Regions from separate parts of the Homo sapiens genome. Here regions 2 and 3 are each linked to region 1. Evidence: promoter capture Hi-C in 16 types of primary human blood cells and fetal thymus (Javierre and others, 2016). All regions are on one chromosome and are shown on one strand. The core of a region is centred on a gene start or on the middle of the fragment in contact, and the rest is flanking DNA. Distances in the headings are between cores, read along the strand shown.

Evidence for each region. Contacts are between HindIII fragments. The CHiCAGO score rates a contact against its expected background, and 5 or more counts as called.
Region 2: a fragment that was not itself captured here is called in contact with the fragment with the promoter of RYR3 in region 1 in 2 of 17 cell types (erythroblasts and megakaryocytes); the score reaches 7.3 in erythroblasts.
Region 3: a fragment that was not itself captured here is called in contact with the fragment with the promoter of RYR3 in region 1 in 2 of 17 cell types (megakaryocytes and erythroblasts); the score reaches 5.8 in megakaryocytes.

Annotation. Positions count from the first base shown.
Region 1 is chr15:33,308,152-33,312,813 of GRCh38, reverse strand. RYR3 (ryanodine receptor 3) reads right to left here and starts at 1,847. Exons shown (of 104, transcript NM_001036.6): 1 at 1,718-1,847. The coding sequence starts at 1,768. RYR3-DT (RYR3 divergent transcript) reads left to right here and starts at 2,155. Exons shown (of 3, transcript NR_120327.1): 1 at 2,155-2,236. RefSeq lists enhancers at 605-1,114, 1,115-1,626. The HindIII fragment of the contact is 6,631 bases long and covers 1-4,662 here.
Region 2 is chr15:33,551,503-33,556,164 of GRCh38, reverse strand. The region is part of intron 10 of RYR3 (ryanodine receptor 3); the gene reads right to left. Among named protein-coding and RNA genes, the nearest start is that of RYR3, 240 kb to the right of the region's middle. The HindIII fragment of the contact is 4,816 bases long and covers 286-4,662 here.
Region 3 is chr15:33,479,111-33,483,772 of GRCh38, reverse strand. The region is part of intron 2 of RYR3 (ryanodine receptor 3); the gene reads right to left. Among named protein-coding and RNA genes, the nearest start is that of RYR3, 170 kb to the right of the region's middle. The HindIII fragment of the contact is 1,021 bases long and covers 1,627-2,647 here.

The DNA.
Region 1 (4,662 bases), core at 598-3,097:
GAAGCCAAGAGAAAAGCATAAGGATCTCACAACAACTACCACCTTCCTAAGCCTCAACTCCCTGGGACATCTATTCAACACTGACCCTGTCTGAAGATAATTTTTTCAAGCAATAACGCCTAGAAGATCATTAATAATAAGGAGAAGAAATGACTGATCATGGAGGACACAAGGCAGAAAAAACCTGAGCTGCCACCCATCCACTACTAAAGACACCTGTCAGAGGGACAACCAAAGGATTTGATGGAGCTTTGAGGGGAGCAGGCAGCTTTATAACAATAGGGTTGTCATGAGTTGCAACTGTGGGGCCATCTTGTGTGCAGTGTGAGAGATGAGAATGGAGTCTGGGTCTGCAGGTCAGACGAAGGATGAAGAGATGAATACTCTAGCCTCTCAGTAGTACCAGCAGGGCGATAGGTACTTCCATACCCCCCCCAAATAAGACCCAAGTCCCAGCTTTGACAAAAGAACCATGTTTGGAAGAGAAACTGAAGTAAATTGGAAGGAAGCGCTTCAACAGGAGGAGAGTGGTTCAAAAGATGGACAAGAGGTAAGTTGTGATCTTCGAAGACCAGGTCATGGAGAAGGGGGCACCCTTAAAGGGAAGTGAGAGAGGGAAAGAAAGAATTTCATTCTAATTCCTGAGAGCAAGGCAGCGCATATAAAATTACCTAAGATTTACAGAGCGATTTGCCGTTTACAAAACATTATGACATTCACGATAACGTTTAATCCTTATCACCCTGAAACGCTGGTTACATTTTATTTTACACATGAGGAAACTGAGGCTGAGTAGGGCGGATTATGCGACTTGCTCAAGGTCACTTGGCTGAAGTCAGCGCTAGGATGCATCCCCAATGCCCCCACCCCTCCGGGTGGCCGTCCACCCTGAAAGTCTTTGTATTATCTCCTACAGGGCAAGGCTGGTGTGGCTGCAACAGACTTCGCCCCCTCACCCCCAAATCTGGGACGGAGCAGCGCCCTCAGGTGTCAAGGAGGGGACCTGAGTGACGCGGAGCCACTGACTGGGGTTTCCCTGTCCTGCGGGGCTCGCGGGAGCCAGGAGCAGAAGCCACAGCTCTCGAACACACGACAGGCAGTCAGTCAAGTCAGGCTCCAGCAGCAGTTGCCGGCGTGGGGCTTAACACGAGAGGGGCAGCGCTGGGTGAATTCCCCTCCGAGCGATCCCAGGGCTAGGACCAAGCGCCTGCGCCCGCTTCTCCGACCCGGCTCCCCACACTCCCCCCTGCCCCGCTGGCTCCTTCCCGGAGGTTCCCCTGTGCGTGGGGGCGCCCTGGAAGAGGAATGGGGCTGGGGTGGAGTATGGAGGTGTCAGAGGGCCGACCCCGGGGCGAGGGCTTCCAACGCCGATCTTATGGGTCAGGACAACCGCGAACAAACCCCGGCTGAAGTTTGGGCATCAAGGGTTTCAGACCAAGTAGCAAGTTGCCTGGAGAGCGAGCGGTCCTAGGTGGAGGGCCTGGGGCAGGGGTGGCGGTAGGGGAACAAGGGAGAGGCAGGAGATGGTGCCCCTTCCCACGCAGCCCCTCGCGGCCCCGCGGGTAGGTGGCCGGTCCGCCTCTGCAGCCCGCGGGTGCGGAGAAAGCGCCCGGCACCGGGCACCCGGCACCGCGGCGCAGCGCAGCCAGCCCCTCCTCGCCGCGCTCCGCGCTCCTCCCCACCTGCCCACGGCCTCGCCCCCGCCGCGGAGACTCACAGTCCTCAGAAACTGGATCTCGTCCTCGCCTCCTTCTCCCCCTTCGGCCATGGCTCCCGAGGCGTCGGCGGTGCCCCAGCCTCCGGCGCCTCTGCTTCCCCCGGCAGCCGCTCGGCGTGCGCTGACTGCTGCTGCGCTCTTTCTCCTCCTCCTTTTCGTCCTCGTCCTCCACCTCCTCCTCCAGCTCCTGGCTCAGCCTCAGCCTCAGCAGCGCCAAGCTAATCCCCGACCATATAGGGAGCTGGGCTAACACTCCACTGCACTGCAGAGCGCCAACGCCAACCAAGCAGTCCGCCCACCCCTCTCGCCTCTCGCCCCAGCCAAGTGCGCTGCGGCCGCCCGCTCCGTGGAGAGCGCAACGCTGGGCGCGTCGAGCTGGCGGGGGCGGTGCGGGGGCCCTGGGCTGGCGCGGTGGAGCCTCCCCCGCACCGCTGGGTACCGCACCGCACACTCAGCGGAGGCGCGCGCCCCGCGGCGACCGGAGGATGTCCCCTAAACTGCTCCAATTCACAAACAAAGGCCAGTTGCTTAGCTCCAGCGCGCCCAGACTGGGTACCAACCCTCTCGCTTTGCTCGCTTTGCCCGCTTTGCCCACTTTGCCTGTGTGTGTGTGTGTGTGTGTGTGTGTGTGTGTGTGTGTGTGACAGAGATAGAGAGAGAGAGAGAGGAAAGAGAGAGACAGAGACAGAGAGAGAGAGAGAGGAAAGAGAGAGACAGAGACAGAGAGACAGAGAGAGGAAAGAGAGAGAGACAGAGACAGAGAGAGAGAGAGAGAGAGAGAGAGAGATCTGGACTCGAATACCTTGCTAGGACCCGCGTGCATTGTTGGGCAAGGAGAAGACGGTGCAGTGAGGAGCGAGGGTGATTGTCCACTTACAACAAAGTTTGCAACTCCCTGGATAGTCCTTTCTACACCTTAAGAGAACCCCTTCCCCTCTTCAAAATTGGTAAGTACACTTTACCAAACCCCTGGATTGTCCAGGGTTGCTGTGACTTCTGTACCCCAGGGAGCTTCTGGGGGATCCTGTGCCACCCTCAATTTGGAAGTCAGGTGGCATCACAACCCTTCCTCTCTGCCCACCCCTAACCTTATTCTGCATTTAGAGTTCCAGCCCTGTGGACTCTAAAGGGAGTAGAGAGTAGTTACAGGAGGCTCCCTTCCAGGTCCTGGAAGGCTCCTACATCCCACCCAGCCTTAGGTCCTTTTCCATGGTTGGGGATTGCCAGATTGGTCCTTGCCTTGACTGACGGTGCAGGGTGCCCCCTTCTGTTTGATGGCCGAGAAGCTCCAAGGCAAGAGACTGTTCAAGGCAAAAGGCACCAGAGATGTAGATTTAGGAGGAAGTGCAACTGGGAAGGTGGTAATTCTGGGCTGATGATGGTGGAAGACACTGGAAACCCCAAGCCATTTCACAGCTTCATATACCGCCTCCTTGTGGACGACATCTATCTCTTGATGCTACCTTAAGATCTCTTTCCTGAGCTTCCGTCCCATATGTTCTGATGAACATCAGAAATGCAAAGAAAAATGTTTTTTTCTTGTATTGTACTCAAACTGCTACCTTCTAGGCTTCAGCTTGGGCCTTGTGCCTCTTCTGAAACCCGCCTAGAATAAGTCAAACCATCTGTACATTGTGGCCCTTCACCTCTTAGAAGGCATCTGCCATGCTTGCCTCTATGGCCCACCATCCACTCTTTTCTTCTCCTGGCTCAAGGTTCTTCTTAGCCCCAACTTTCCCTGTAGTATAGTTTCCAGAGCCTATGTCATCTTTGATGGCCATATGAGCATTCCAGGTGGTCTTCTTCCTGAATTGTTGTGCTCTCCGTCCTTGTTTTGGACAGTCTTTATGTGCAGCCTAATATTGGATTGGCTTCTGGAGAAACACTAATGACACTCACTGTGTTTGGAGTTAACTAGAATTTCTAGATTTACTTTTTTCCTCCCACGTGAACTGCAAAAGTCAGCTCTTCTCCATCTTGATCACATGCAAGTGCTTGAGTACCTGTGGGCACGGTGGCTCACGCCTATAATCTCAACACTTTGGGAGGCCAAGGCGGGTGGATCACCTGAGGTCGGCAGTTCGAGACCAGCCTGACCAACATGGAGAAACCCCATTTCTACTAAAAAAAAAAAAAAAATACAAAATTAGCCGGTCGTGGTGGTGCATGCCTGTAATCCCAGCTACTTGGGAGGCTGAGGCAGGAGAATCGCTTGAACCCGGGAGGTGAAGATTGCCGTGAGCCGAGATCATGCCATTGCACTCCAGCCTGGGCAACAAGAGCGAGACTCTGTCTCAAAAATATGTGTGTGTGTGTGTGTGTGTGTGGGTGGGTGTGTGTGTGTTCCTTCCAATTGTAATACCCAATCATGTATTGATGTCTCTATATGTGAACCTTTAAGGTATTTTTAAAGCTAGAGTATGCCAGGCAAGGTGCTAATTATTACTAACCTGTGATATGGCATACCTTCAGAATACTAATAGAGGCCCTCTTGGATTAACTTTCATACTTTTGATTATGCTTAATATGGCATACCTTCAGAATACTAATAGAGGCCCTGTTGGATTAACTTTCATACTTTTGATTATGCTTATTTAATGATCAAGAACTTACCTAAGTCAGAAAAATAATACCTATTGAGTACTATGCTTATTACCTGCGTGACAAAATAATCTGTACACCAAACCTCCATGACATGCAGTTTACTTATGTAACAAACCTACATATGTACCCTTGAACCTAAAATAAAAGTTATAATTAAAAAATAACCTACATAAATATATTATTTTGCAGCCCAAATTTCTTCTTGTTCATAGGGCTACTATAAATGCCTTTCTTACATACTTTACTGAAATACAGATATGTAATCTGGGACACCACCTCCCGCATCAGTCAAATAACCCTACCACAAAAGAAGTAAGAATGGAGTTCTGTAACACCATTGG
Region 2 (4,662 bases), core at 1,444-3,943, 240 kb before region 1:
CCTTTTACAATACAGGACTGTAGGCACCCTGAAATGTTTCAGAGGAAAAGTAGATATGGGAAGGTGGAGCCCATTCATGGATGCTGGGGTGAGCCTTCAAGAAACTCCTGGTTAGCCCACTATTTCCACGTGTCTCTGGAGAAACCTTGAGGAATCACCTTTGGGTTTATTTCTATATCAATACAGCCCCCTTAAGACTTTCTCATCTAGAATTTGAGATCTTCGTATTGCCCTTAAAAACCACACACTACAGGACATTGATAAGAGTCTAGCTGGCCTCAAGCTTTGTGTGGGAAGAGGAGGAACGCCTTCCTCTGTTTACTACATGCTGGGAAGCAGATTCATCTGCCTTATTGGGGAAGGCATATTTCTTCAGCAGAAGTCACTGTACTGGGCTCTTTTCTCCGTATTTCTCATTTAACCCTTGCACCACCACCTTGAGATAAGCAGCACTACTTCCATTTTATGGATAAGAAAACTACCAGGTCATCTTCCTGGTCTCATTTAATTTTCACAGCTATCATTCAAGACATACTTTTTTTTAAATCTCTATTTTTTACAAAACATATGAACAGCATATGGCAGAGCCAGGGTTCAAACCCAGGCTTCTTCCACTTCGAAGCCCAAGGTTTTCCTTGACTGACTCTCTATTTGGTCCACTTTGAACAATAAACACTAGAGAAAGCACATCAACTTAAAGTTTAAAAATCCTTTGTAGATTTTATTTAAAATGAAGCTGCAGTAAGTGATGTTGTCTTCAGGCATTTGAATCTTACTATCCGTATTTTCCTCTTTCCCCTTCCCTCCTTTGCTCCATACCCTCCCTTTCCCCAGTGGATAACTTGGTGAGAAAACGGAGCAAGCAAGGGGACTGGCAAAAACAGCGCTGTTTCTGCACCAGAGTTTCAGAGACAGGTGCACCATGAGCACAGCTGTCACCTTGGTTAGGGGTGCTGTGGCTGCAAAGGTTAAAGGGCATGTGAAACGTAGGCAGGGAAGTCACATTTGGCCAAGAACACCATGCTTAGCACATAGATGTTTCACAAATGTTTACTAAACTGAATTTAATGTTTTTATACTGTGAGAAAAAATTTCCTCTAATTGGGAACAGTGATAGCTCTATACCCTTACACTATGAAATAGGCAACATTCGAGAATCTATCCCAATCATTCAAGATGTATGGTGTAGTCATTTAAAGTGGCTATTTAAAGCACTTCTAAAGTGGCTTTACAAAAAGCGGCTATATATATGGCCTGCTTTAACATTATTAATTCACCCTTCCCTGAAAAAAATTCAATGCTGTAAACTGACATTGAGTCATGACATCTAAACAGACAATACTGCCGTGCAGGAGTAAATATTAAATCACATTATCTGAAATCCTTGTGGGAATGGCCTTGCAATGTCAAGACCATGGAAAAATGATGTGAAATCAAGTTCATAGAAATTTGACTTAGATGTTCAAAATAAAATGAATCTCTCTCATTGGGTGTGTACTGGGAAGAGATTACAGTAGCAAAATGATTACACAAGGATGGCAGGATGTTTCTGTAAAGATAATGGAGGTTGGCCAGGCACAGTGGCTCACGCCTGTAATCCCAGCACTTTGGGAGGCCGAGGCGGGCGGATCACGAGGTCAGGAGATCGAGACCGTCCTGGCTAACATAGTGAAACCCCGTCTCTACTAAAAATACAAAAAAATTAGCCCGGTGTGGTGGTGGGTGCCTGTAGTCCCAGCTACTCGGGAGGCTGAGGCAGGAGAATGGCGTGAAGCCGGGAGGCGGAGCTTGCAGTGAGTCGAGATCGCACCACTGTACCTCCAGCCTGGGCAACAGAACGAGACTCCACCTCAAAAAAAAAAAAAAAAAAAAAGATAATGGAGGTTAGAATGAAATGGATTTCACTCTATTTCAAGGTATGACCACACTGATGTAACCCTTCAGCAAGCATTTTTCAAACTTACTACAAGACGTTCTGGGATGCAAAAATAAAGCAGGGTGGGGTATGTGTGGTCCTTGTCATCCAGGGCCTCCCAGTCAAGGAAGTGATGGCCTTAATAATGCATGAGCAGGTTTTCCTCTCACAAAGAGCACTTGACACTCGCCTGAAAGCATGAGAAGGCGCTCACTGTGGTAGAGTGCAGAGGGGCAAAAGGCGTTCAGGCACAAGTTTGGTGGTGGTTAGAAAAAAACAAATATGTTCCAAGACTGATAAATAGTATGCCGGAGCTCAAGGCAACCTCAGGCAAGTGGCAAGAGACGCAATGGAAGGGCAGGCAGCAGTCAGGTCTGAATGATCTTTTATGACAGACTTCAAATGAGGTGCAAATTGATGAAGAATTGTGTTCCAGGTCTCACAGAGAGCAGATGAGAATCAAGGCCCGATCTAGGCTAACTTTGAAGCCAGGCTTTGTCTTACACAACACCACTCTCAGATCAAAGGGATAAGGCTGGGATGCTGTATTTTGGAAGTAATACTACATCCTAGCTCTCCAATTTGAGTTGCATCAGCTGCTGAAGTTGGGGGAAGGAGGACCTTGATCAAGATCACATCCTGCTCCTTGCTCCTTATTCTATGTGATTTGTATAGCCTGCTCAAAGTCTTCAGTCTGATTCCATTTGAGCCAGGCCCGGCCAATAACTGCAGCTGGTTGGTTCTTGGACTTGGTCACCTTTCAGCAAGGCTCAATCACACCTCCATCTTATGCACATACAAGATGCACTGGGGCACCTGCCATCTTCCTGCTAATGGCAGGCTGCTAAGGATGTTAGCACGCACCTGCAGCTGTCCAGTGGCCCCTAATTTAGTAGTCATAACTGTCACAAGCTAATGCAACCTGACAGAAAATGTGGACTGGGAAGCTCGTCATTACCAAATGACTCACGGCCCAGCACACCCAGTGTCCTCCCAAAACACATGACTAAAGCCCCAGCAGTGCTCTTCCCAAGAGCCTCTTTTTCTCCTTTTTCAGATTCTCCAACATATGGAAAGGATCAGATGAATACCCTGCTTCCTCGCCCTCTGCCCCAGTCCCATAGAAAACAGATGACTGTCTCCACCACTCCCTCAGCCTTCCCAACTCCTATGCCACCACACAGATCCTGAACCGCTATCTCAGGCTACCATTTGCCACCTACTCTGTCACATAACACCTGTAGCAGGCAAGGGCTGGCGAGATGATTCAGTGCCCTTACATTGTTGAGAAACAGAGCCCCAAACCTCTTTCTGCTGGGTATTGTCACTAGCGCCCAGGGAGGGGAAGCACAGAGAATGCATTTAAGGAAAGCCCGTGCCAAGCAAGGCAAGAATATGCTTACTAAGCAGGCACATGGAAGCCCAGGAAAATCAGGGCCTTTCTACCGCCCTTCCCCCACAGTTATTTGGATGGTGTATGACAGTTATGTGTTCTCCACATGCTCTTCCTTATTGTGCAGCTTCACAGTCTAAGGTGCCAAAGCCCTGCCCACACAACGTCCCAAAGAAACCCTGACATCCAGTGGGAACACAGCCATATCTTGGCCTGCCATAGAGCCTAAGCCATTTTAATTTCAGTTCCTTTCAAATTGAAATGAAGGTAGCTAGGTTGAATACTACCGCATGGAGACTTATTTAAAATCTCTAGCATAGTGACTCCAGTGAAATGTAACCACATTGCCAAGTGCACAGGACAATGTGACTCATGGGTGACTTTTGCCCCCAGCTCTGCTATGCCGATGGCCCCCGTGGTACCATGACGACTTTCCACCCATGCGCTGCTTGCTTCTCCATACGTGGAAATGGAGGAACTTGGGGAGATGAGCAATGGACCCTTTGAAGGGAAATGTATTCAGAGGCCAGAAGTGATGCCAAGTGGAAGGAGTGTTACAAGGTCTCTATGGGGCTCTGAGCTTTCCTTGCTTCCCCCAGAGACCACAGCACAGTGCTGACCCATGCTCCACAAGGCTGAGCCAAGAATGGAATATAATGGAAGAGTCCCCTTGGAACAGGATCCTGCCAGCTGCCTGGAAGGCCGCCTGATCCTGTGCTGGAAGAAAAGCCCCTTTTTGAAATGGTAAAGACCTCGAGGTCATTGCTCTAACCCTGGCAGCATATCCCGAGTGGGTCAAGGAGAAAGGGGGTAGAAGGCTCAAATAAGGAAAGGGCCAAACTGGCATTCTTAGGAAAACACTTGCTTGGTCATTAGCCACGATGAGTCATTTCTTATTTTCCACCTCCCTCTTCTACTGCCGCCCACCTTCAGCTCCCACTCCATGTCCCAGTCTCTGTTCTTACGACTTTCCTGTTGCTTTGTTTCACTGAATCTTTCAGAAAGTTGCACTGCTCTAAATCACTTCCTGGAGGCAAAAATATTCACTAAATAGATATAAATTTGAATTTAAAGAATCCCTCTTGTGCTGGGAATCTAAAAAAAAATGATAGCAAAGTGAGGAAGATATGCTCAGAAAACCAGAATGAAATCAGAGTCAATAGCCATTGGAAGAGAAGCAGAAGGAAGATGACATTTGAGAGACGGTTAGGAAGATGTGAACAGGAAGCTCATGTCTTTTAATATTTGAAATAAAGATATGAAAAAAGCCCAATTCTGATATAGGGCAATATTAAAGAGAAAAAACTACATGCCAAAGAGTTTCTCTGCCTAAAAAGACCACAGGAGCACAAAA
Region 3 (4,662 bases), core at 888-3,387, 170 kb before region 1:
CAAGATCAGTATACAAATTCCCCTCAATTTGTTTGCCAACTCATAAGCTATATAAGACAGCATTGCTAGAAAGCAACAGCTAAAATGCTTAGAATAAGCAAAAGTTTCAACAGCTACTTATTTCTGGAATGGCAAAATTTGGTTTTCAAGTCTGGCTATTTAGAGGTGTTTAGAAAATACTGCAGGCTTTTCATTAAAATCCCAAAAGACTACATCTGGAGACCAGGAACAGCACCTTAGAACTAAGGGCAAAATTTAAATGGAGCAAGCTGGCACAAGATGAAGGAGACACACTAGTAATTTAACTGCCAGCTACAACAAAATACAATATTCCTCAGGGGGCAGACAACAGAAACCAGAATAACTATAAAATATCATCTACAATGTTCAGTATAAAATTTAAAAATACTAAATATTAAAGGAAATAGGAAAATGTGACTTATAACCAAGAGCAAAGTCAGTCATTAGAAGCAGACCTACAGACATTCAAGACGTTGAATTGGTAGTCAAGGATTTAAATAATGATTATAAATTTATTAATGAATTTACCAAAAAAATGGGAATAATGGGAGAAGAGAGAGATAATGGAAGGGGAGAAAGAATAATGGAGGAGAAAGAAGAATCTTAGAAAATAAACAGAAACCTTAGAAATAAACAACTGCAAACTTTAGAATTTAAAAATAAAAGCCTGAAATAAATTCATTAGAGGGGGTTAATAGCACATGTACATTAAAAAAGGGAATAAATAAATATAAAATAGGTCAATGGAAAGTATTCAGGCAGATGCATAGATAAAAAAATAGTTGAAGAAAAAATGGATAGAGTCATAGTGACCTGTGGAACAATATAAAACAATCTAACATATAAGTAGTTGGAGTCCCAGGAGAGAGTAAATATGGCACATAAAATATTTTAAGAAATAATGTCCCCCAAATTCTATACTTAATGAAAAACAACAACCAAAAGATCCATAAAGCTCAGCTCATCAAAATCCAGGCAAGATAAATTTAAAGAAAACTACCCTCAAACACATCATTCAGATTGCTAGAAACCTGACTGGGCACAGTGACTCACGCCTGTAGTCCCAGCACTTTCGGAGGCTGAGGTGGGAGGAGCACTTAACGTCAGGAGTTCGAGACCAGCCTGGCCAACATGGTGAAACCCTATCCCTACAAAAATACAAAAATTAGCCAGGCATGGTGGCTTGCGCCTGTAATCCCAGCTACTCAGGAGACTGAGGCAGGAGAATTGCTTGAACCTGGGAGGGGGAGGTTGCAGGGAGCGGAGATGGCGCCATTGCCCTCCAGCCTGGGTGACAAGAGTGAAGCTCCATCTCAAACAACAACAAACAACAACAACAACAACAAAAACCAAATTGCTAGAAGTCAAAGATAAAGAAAAAAATGTTAAAACTTTCCAGAGGAAAAGGTTTGTTACATATAGAAGAATGATGATAAAAATGAGAGCTAACTTTACATCATAAACAATGGAGGCAAAAGGGCAATAAGATGCCATCTTCAAAGTGCTGCAAGAAGAAGAAAAAAAACTAAATAATGATTTTTTATCCAGAGAAAAATCCTTCAAAAACAGGGACAAAATAAAGACATTCTCAGTGAAAAAGAAGCTTGGAGAGTTTGTCCCCAGCAGATCTGAAGTATAAGAAACACTAAGGAATATCCTTCAGGTTGAAGGAAAATGCTACCAGATAGAAATCTGGATCTAGAGGAGAGAAAAAAAGAGCACTGAAAATGGCAAATACATTAATTTTATAAAAGGTTCTTCTTCCCTTTTATTTCTTTAAAAGACTATTGACATTTTGAAACAAAAATAAAAATGTGTTACACATTTTAAATGGGTAGAAATAAAATCTCTGACAATAATAGCACAAAAGATATAAGGGAATTTGTATAAATATGAATGCAAGGAAAACTGTGATAAGTTAACGATTTATATTTTAATTACTAAAAAAAAAAAAAAAAAAAAGTATTCAAGGCCAGGCCTGGTGGCTCACTCCTGTAATCCCAGCACTTTGGGAGACTGAGGCGGGTGGGTCACCTGAGGTCAGGAGTTCCAGACCAGCCTGGCCAACATGGTGAAACCCCATCTCTACTAAATATACAAAAAATTAGCTGGGCCTGGTGGCAGGTGCCTGTAATCCCAGCTACTTGGGAGACTGAGGCAGGAAAACTGCTTGAACCCAGGAGGCAGAGGTTGCAGTGAGCTGAGATTGCATCATTGCACTCCAGCCTGGGTGACAGAGCAAGACTCTGTCTCAAAAAAACCCAAAAAAAAAAGTATTCAAAAATAATACTAAGAGGTAGAGCTAAAAAGCCAACAGAGAAGATAAAATGTCATAACTTTACTTTATTTAAAGGCAAAAAAGGAGAAACAGAAGAACAAAATCCAGAGGAGACAAAAGAATAGCATGAAGGTAGACTAAAACCTGAGTATCTAATTATTACAATAAATGTAAATGAATAAAACATTCCAATTAAACACCAGAGATTGTAAAATGGGGTAGGAAAACAGTACTTACCTATATGTTGTTTATAAGGGATACATTTTAAATATAAAGATATAAATACATACATAAGGTAAAAAACTGATGAAAAAGATGTACCATATAAACAGTAAGCATAAGAAAGCTTATGGCTACACTAGCATGAGTCAAAGCATACTATAAGACCAAGGACAAATAGGACAATTTGATAATGACAAAAGGATCAATTCATCATGAAAAACAAAAATTCTGAATACACATGCACCTAATAACAGAGCTTTAACATACATGAAACAAAAGTGACAGAACTAAAGAGAGACAAATCCTCATAGTTTTTAACACCTTTCTCTCAATAATTGATAAAACAGCAGACACATTTCAGTAAGGACATAGAAGATTTGAACACCCCTTTTGACCATCTTGACATCCATAAAACCTACATCCAACAACTACAGGACACACCATGTTTTCAAGACACCTGAAACATTCACCAACATAGACCATATGCTGGGCCATAAAATAAGTCTCCATACATTGAAAAAGATTGGAGTGATACACAGAATGTTTTCTGAGCACATCAGAATTAAAATAAAAATTAGTAACAATTAAAACTTATATCCCACTGATTCATTGTTTAAAACATCCACTCACTAACACTTTTTATCTAACTCCCTCTGACTCTCCTTAATATTTTACTTTTAAAAGTCACAAATATCCTCCTGATTCTTACATCCAGGCTTTCAAAAATTCAATTAGTTAATTCAGTACACATGGGCAACTTAACTAAGCCAATCAACATTTTCTGAGGACCTAATATGTGTATGACCCTGTGCTGATACTAAATGCTACTGCTTAAATATAGCACTTCTGATGTGTTAGGAACTGCTGTAAAGCATATTACAATTTTGAACCTGTGTCACTGAATCTTCATAATAATCCTATGAGATGGGTACAGTTTGAAGGATGAAGAAACTGAGGCAGAGAGCAGTAAAGTCATTTGCCCACAGTCACACAGCTAAGTGTTGGAGCCAGAATTACCAGTCCAGGCAGTCTGACTCCAGGGTCAAGTTTATTAAGCACTGTGCTATACAGAGCTATACAAAAGTCCTTGATGTCAGTGCTCACAGACTTGTGGAAAGGCAGAAGAAAAGTCAGATAAACTGTCACAAATTAAAGCAGTAGATGTTTTGCACCCCTCCTCCCCAGTCTTACCATGTCTGGGTACCTCTATCCCAATATAGAGGCACATAATAATCTGCCTTAGATCCCTTTAGAAACTTACTTTGAAGAAAATACATGATATTCTCATTTATATTGTAAAATATTAGCTGTACAAAAATTTAACACTGCTTTATGGCTCACTCAAAGCATTTGCATTTTACTAGTTCCTGTTTGATTTAAGCAAAATATATATTTCTAACTTAGGAATGCCAGACAGTCATAGGACAGATGTAGAAAAGTTGTGGGAGGGGTATGGAGATGTGCCCAGGCATTTCTGAAGTCTAATTACATGGAGTAATATGCCTTCTTTACCCTTATGTAAGCTGGATCCACGATACTCTTTATTTCTGAATATTACAGAAATTAGACAGTGATTCAGGTTTGGAATGAACAATCTTCATGAAGTCACTTAACTCAGTTTAAATTCTTACACCTTTCTTCTCTGTAAATGAGGACAATGTTTGCTTTATAGAGTCATAAAGAGTAAATGAAAGCAGTAGGCACCCACGGCATTACTTGGGACATAGCGCATGATGCCTGATAAATGTTAAAAAAAAAAAAAAAAGTCAAAATCTCAGCTTATATGCCTCTTCATATTACATGATAAGGGAGTTTTTTTTTTTTAAAGTTTTATAATAGCCTGGTCTTTCATAAGATCTCAGGTCCATAGAGAATACTATGTACTAACATACATCAGAAGTTCAAAGAAGGCTGTACAACCTTAGGATGAGTCTGTCTCTGCAAATCTTCACAGACTTAATTTTTTAGGAGGAAACAGTAATCTCTTTCTCAGCTAAAGAATCTAAAAATAATAGAAAATAAGTTATTTTTAGCCAAAGATGCAATCTTAATTTATGTCATCTACATAATGATGTTTGTACAACAGCTAATGTTTAATCCTGGGTCTTCAGAGCCTACATAACTCTCAAACAATAGCACAC